Linked DNA regions of Homo sapiens: region 1 is linked to region 2. The links are contacts of gene promoters, found by promoter capture Hi-C in human tissues and cell types (Jung and others, 2019). All regions are on one chromosome and are shown on one strand. The core of a region is centred on a gene start or on the middle of the fragment in contact, and the rest is flanking DNA. Distances in the headings are between cores, read along the strand shown. Region 1 overlaps DUSP11 (dual specificity phosphatase 11). Region 2 holds the start of STAMBP (STAM binding protein).

Region 1 (2,700 bases), core at 119-2,618, 53 kb after region 2:
CTGAATGCCAGTGGGACTCCTTTCCTTCCATGGTCACAATCAGAAATATCCCCCGGATCATCAAGGTCAGGATTTCAGTGGGGAAAATCTGAAGATTGTATTTTTGTTTAAACTAGGAAAGGAATAGGAGGGATAGGAGGGGAAAGCTTTTGACAGCCATAAAAAAGATGAGAAGGTGAAGACAAATAATTGTTTTCTAGATTCCATGTCTTTCTTATTAGACTTCCCCAGCATAGCTCAGATTAGTATCAGGAGAAGCCTACTTGAAACGTTTTGGGAATTTACTTAATTTGTGACTTATAGATCAGATTTCCTTTTTCAACTGCTGTGTCAGCTTCTCTGCATGTCTGGGCTTAAAAATGAGTCATTTCAGGCCAGGCCTGTTGGATCATGTTTGTAATCCAGTACTTTGGGAGGCAAGGTGGGTGTATCGCTTGAGTCCAGGAGTTTTAGACCAGCCTGGGCAACACTGAAACCGTGTCTCTACAAAAAATACAAAAATTAACCAGGCGCGGTGGCGTGTGCTTGTAGTCTCAGCTGCTCAGGAGGCTGAAGTGGGAGGATCGATTGAACCCAGGAGGTCAAGGCTGCAGTGAGCCATGATCATGCCACTGTACTCCAGCCTGGGCAACAGAGCAAGACCCTGTCTCCAAAAAGAAGGTGTTGGAGACACAGGGAATTTTTAGGGAAGTGAAACTATTCTGTGTGATACTCTAAGGGTGGATACATGTTATATATTGATCAAAACCTATAAAAGGGCTTCACGTATATTAACACATTTCACAACAATCCTGTGCTGATGAAGTAGCAGTAGTACTAATATCTCTTACTGAGTGCTTATTCTGCACTAAGCTCAGAGAATAGATGGTTACATCTAATAAATAATTTTGTAGATAATCAAACAGGCTCAGAAAAGGAAGAATCAAAACTTGAACTTAGTTCTTTCTCTCATTTTTTTTGTGGCAAAATATATATAACATAATATGTACATACAATGCATAACATAGAATGAATCACGCATACCTAACCTCTAGACTTTGGTGATAACGATGTGTCAGAGTTGGTTCTTCATTTGTAACAAATGGACCACACTGGTATGGAATGTGGATAGTGGGGGAGTCTGGGTGGGTTGGGGAAGGCAAAGTACATGTGGGAACTATCTGTCCTTTTGGCTCAGTTTTGCTGTGAACCTAAAACTGCTCTGAAAACTAGTCTATTTTTTTTTTTTTTTTTTTGAGATGGTGTCTCGCTTGTCGCCCAGGCTGGAGTGCAGTGGTGTGATCTTGGTTCACTGCAAGCTCTGCCTCCTGGGTTCACGCCATTCTCCTGCCTCTGCCTCCTGAGTAGCTGGAACTACCGGCGCCTGCCACCACGCCTGGCTAATTTTTTTGTGTTTTTAGTAGAGATGGGGTTTCACCGTGTTAGCCAGGATGGTCTCGATCTCCTGACCTCGTGATCCTCCTGCCTCGGCCTCCCAAAGTGCTGGGATTACAGGCTTGAGCCACCGCACCCAGCCAAACTAGTCTATTTTTTAAAAAGTACATTGCTGGCACCTGAGTAGCCAGACAGATTGAAGGAACAGAGCATAAAGTTCAAAAATAAGCCACATACATAAAAGAATATTCAGCAATGAAAGCCATCCTTCATATATGTAGACATGTGAGAAATATTTATTTGTGAGGCCGAGACAGGAGGGTTGCTTGAGCTCAGGAGTTTGAGATCAGCCTGGGCTACATGGCAAGACGGCAAGACCCTATCTCTTTTTTTTTTTTTTTTTTTTTTTTAAATTTTTTTTTTGAGATGGAGTCACTCTGTCACCCAGGCTGGAGTGCAGTGGTGTGATCTCGGCTCACTGCAAGCTCTGCCTCCCGGGTTCACGCCATTCTCCTGCCTCAGCCTCCCGGTAGCTGGGACTACAGGCGCCTGCCACCACCCCTGGCTAATTTTTTGTATTTTTAGTAGAGACGGGGTTTCACAGTGTTAGCCAGGATGGTCTCGATCTCCTGACCTTGTGATCCTCCCGCCTTGGCCTCCCAAAGTGCTGGGATTACAGGTGTGAACCACTGCGCCCAGCTGACCCTATCTCTTTAAAAAAAAAAAAAAAAGGCCAGGTGTGGTGGTTCATGCCTGTAGTCCCAGCTACTTGTGAGGTTGAGGTGGGAGTATTGCTTGAGCCCAGGAGGTGGAGGCTGCAGTGAGCCATGTTTGTGTCACTGCACTCCAGCCTGGATGACGGATGACAGAGCAACACCCTGTTTCAAAAAAAAAAAAAAAAAAAGAAAAGAAATATTTATAAGCACTAAATATGATAAGCACTCCACCTGGAGCTGGAGATACAGTGGTGAATAAAATCTGGGAGATTACAGTCTGATTAGGAGACCAACATGAAACAAATACAGAAATACATATATAGAAGTGGGCTTATTTTTTTCTTTCTGACCACTCTGGAAGAAAGGATTGTTGTAATATACCTTCTATGTTCCAGGAGAATGGAAACTTTCCTTTGAATCTCGTTGTATGTTAGCATCACAGGACTTGAATAAATGCCTAATGTAGTACAGGATTTTAAGCACATATTTGCTCTTATTTCATTCTCTGTGACAGAGTTTTGAAAAGAAACTTGCTCCAGAAGAATGCTTTTCCCCTTTGGATCTTTTTAACAAAATCCGAGAACAAAATGAAGAACTTGGACTGATTATT
Region 2 (2,700 bases), core at 193-2,692:
TTAACTAACTTCAAGGTTGACCATTTTTACTTAATCTGAGAGTAACTGACATTTTCTGTGGTATCCTTTTTCATATTTGAGCACAAGGTGAGTTAGGGGAACTGGTCTGGGAATTAATGCTCATAATTGTAACTCTGCTCACTAAACCACTATAGTCAATCTATAAAATCATTCATTCATCATTATCATGGCAAGAGACTTAAATCTTGAAAACAACCATTTACTCATCTTCATAGACTAAACACTGAATAACAAAAAGGCACGATGGTAACTTGCATTGCAAAAACCCCTGGTGTCCCAAAACTCCAGTAATTCTAGTCTTTCTAGATATAGTTGCTGTTAGAATCAGATTCCAAATTCCAACCAGATATCACCACTATCATCTCCAAAATAAAACTGGGCATTTGACACACATTGCATTACAGCAAACCCTAATCAGTATGCTCTAGAATACACAAACTACAGTAGAATAAATCTTGGAATTCAAGGCCCTGTGGCAACTGGCCCTCCCCAACAGAGATCTTTTGCTTCAGTCAGGATTCCAATCCGCCCAGGCATCCTCACATTTCAGTTTCATTTATCTATCCAGTTTTTCTTTTCTACTACAACTCTTCCCTCAGGGGTAGTCTTCTCTCAGCCAATTCCATCTTTAGGTCTCTTCAATATTCGGGTCACAATTCCTCCACAAACCTTCCCCTCTAAAACACCCTCACTAATAGCACAAAAGCCGTGAGGACTACTAGGGATGCAGAGATAGTCCATCTCTCACGAGGCCTCCTTAGGGACTCAGAAAGCCGCAAGCATATCTAAAACCTCCCCAAGTAATTAGTAAACCTAGTCCACGGCCCATGAAAGTTAACTGAAACAGAGGATGCTTGTTGCATCTCAGTACCTCTTGGGAGAGGTTCTTGTGGGTTAAGAAAGGAACCACCTCCCAAGGCCAGGAAGCGGCGCCGGTTACCACCTGGTTGAGCAATTCCAAAAAGGGGATGCAGCATCTGCAAATGAGGGGGAAAGGCGGCGTAAAGGACCGAGGGGGAAATACGAGGAGGAGAAAGGAAGTAGCAGGAATGAGCGGAGGGGGCGTATACAGTAGGGAGGGCTCTATCGACAACTGCTTGAGGAACCCTTCTTGAAGGCACTCAAGACGAACTTGCCAACCCCAGGCACAATCATCCAGGGTTTTCGGGATCTTTCAAATGCAGTAGGCGGGGAACCGCTGGGCCTGGCTGGTCAGGCGCCAGCCCGCGGAGACAGAAGCCGTCGGGTGCCTCGAGCGAGGCAGGCCGGGCAGGGGACTCGGGGAGAGTAGGCTGCAGGCCCCACACTCACGGCGGCCGATCCCCTTCAAAGTCCAACCACGCTCGGAGGCCCTGCCCCACCACGTTCCCGGGACCCTTCCCCACCTTTCCCCGCGGATGACACCCGGAGGTTCCGGAAACGTCACATCCGGCGCCCGCTCCGCCCACTCCCGTTCGTCTGTCTATTACATTCCCAGTGATTTAGGACTTGGAACGGAGAGCTAGTAGGTGGGGCTAGAATCGGCACCTGCGGAAAATCCGACCAATGAGGAGCGAACGACACAGCGGCCATCTTGGTAAAGGAAAAGGAACAAGGAAGAAAGTGGAACCAATTAGCAAGCTAAGGTTTGCTTTTAAAATTATTTTGATTTGGGGTAGTCCCTCATCACACTCACAATACTCCTGCATTTAAGGAGGGATTGCTGATCCCAGCACAACTGCAGACTTAGCTAAACTAACCAGGATTTATAAATTGGGGGACAGAAAGTCTTTCGAATGTATTTTTTAGCTTGTATTACATTCTACACAAAAATTGGTAGTCTTAGATATTAGGCAATATCTAAGACTAATTTTATTGCTTAGAAAAGAACATAAGTCTAACTTTTTTTTTTTTTAAGACAGGGTCTTGCGGTGTCACCCAGGCTGTCACAGGAGTGCAGTGGTGTGATCATAGCTCACTGTGGTCTCCAACTTCAGGGCTCAAGCGATCTTCTTGCCTCTGCCTCCCAAAGTACTGGGATTACTGGCGTGTGCCACCGCACCCAGATGAGACTAACGTTTTAATGTCAAAAAACCTATAAAATATTTGGAAAAAAAGCGTTTAATCTCTAAGAGCCGCTATGCAAAAGCAGTGGAGACACAAAAATCTGTATGACACTGTTCCTGCCCTGAGACCGGGACAAGGTGGTTTTATGCATCAAATACAGAATGGCACGTTCTGCATGTAGATGTGTGTCTGTACGAATCCATATACATCCTCTTTACAAAAAGGTCCTACAAGCTTGCTAATCATTCTGTCTCAGAAGACTTTGTGAAACATTAGGCTTTGGTTTAAAAGTCTAAGTCTCTGGGGGACACTTTCCCAAAATTTGGGAGCCTCCCTGTGAGTTTGTTAGTGTGATGGCATGACCTATTCTTCAAGGTCTAGCTTAAATCCCTAATTCAGGTGTTGCCTCCTCCACCTAGCCAGCCTCCAGATCTCTCATTTCTCCCAACCTCCGTTGTGTATATTTCTGTTGGAGTTACCTGAAGTGATTTTGTGTAGTCATCAACTTTTCAGACTTAGGGTTGAAAGTACTTGCTTGCATCATATCACCTCCCCTTCTGCCCCCAGCAAGCATTAATGTGCATGGGTCTACTATCAACTCTCATGGATCTACTGCAGATAAATCTGGGAAGA

What was found. The method cuts DNA at HindIII sites, captures the fragments that hold promoters and counts their contacts. A contact is called where the count stands out against the background at its distance.
Region 1: a contact is called between a fragment that was not itself captured here and the fragment with the promoter of STAMBP in region 2, in 1 of the 25 tissues and cell types used here (hippocampus).

Annotation. Positions count from the first base shown.
Region 1 is chr2:73,774,949-73,777,648 of GRCh38, reverse strand. DUSP11 (dual specificity phosphatase 11) reads left to right here. Exons shown (of 9, transcript NM_003584.3): 3 at 2,605-2,700. Among named protein-coding and RNA genes, the nearest start is that of DUSP11, 3.8 kb to the left of the region's middle. The HindIII fragment of the contact is 4,714 bases long and covers 1-2,700 here.
Region 2 is chr2:73,827,703-73,830,402 of GRCh38, reverse strand. It overlaps STAMBP (STAM binding protein), which reads right to left and starts at 1,442. Exons shown (of 10, transcript NM_213622.4): 1 at 893-1,442. LOC105374807 (a long non-coding RNA gene) reads left to right here and starts at 5. Exons shown (of 3, transcript XR_940246.3): 1 at 5-87; 2 at 1,499-1,646. RefSeq lists a silencer at 1,453-1,671. The HindIII fragment of the contact is 10,781 bases long and covers 1-2,700 here.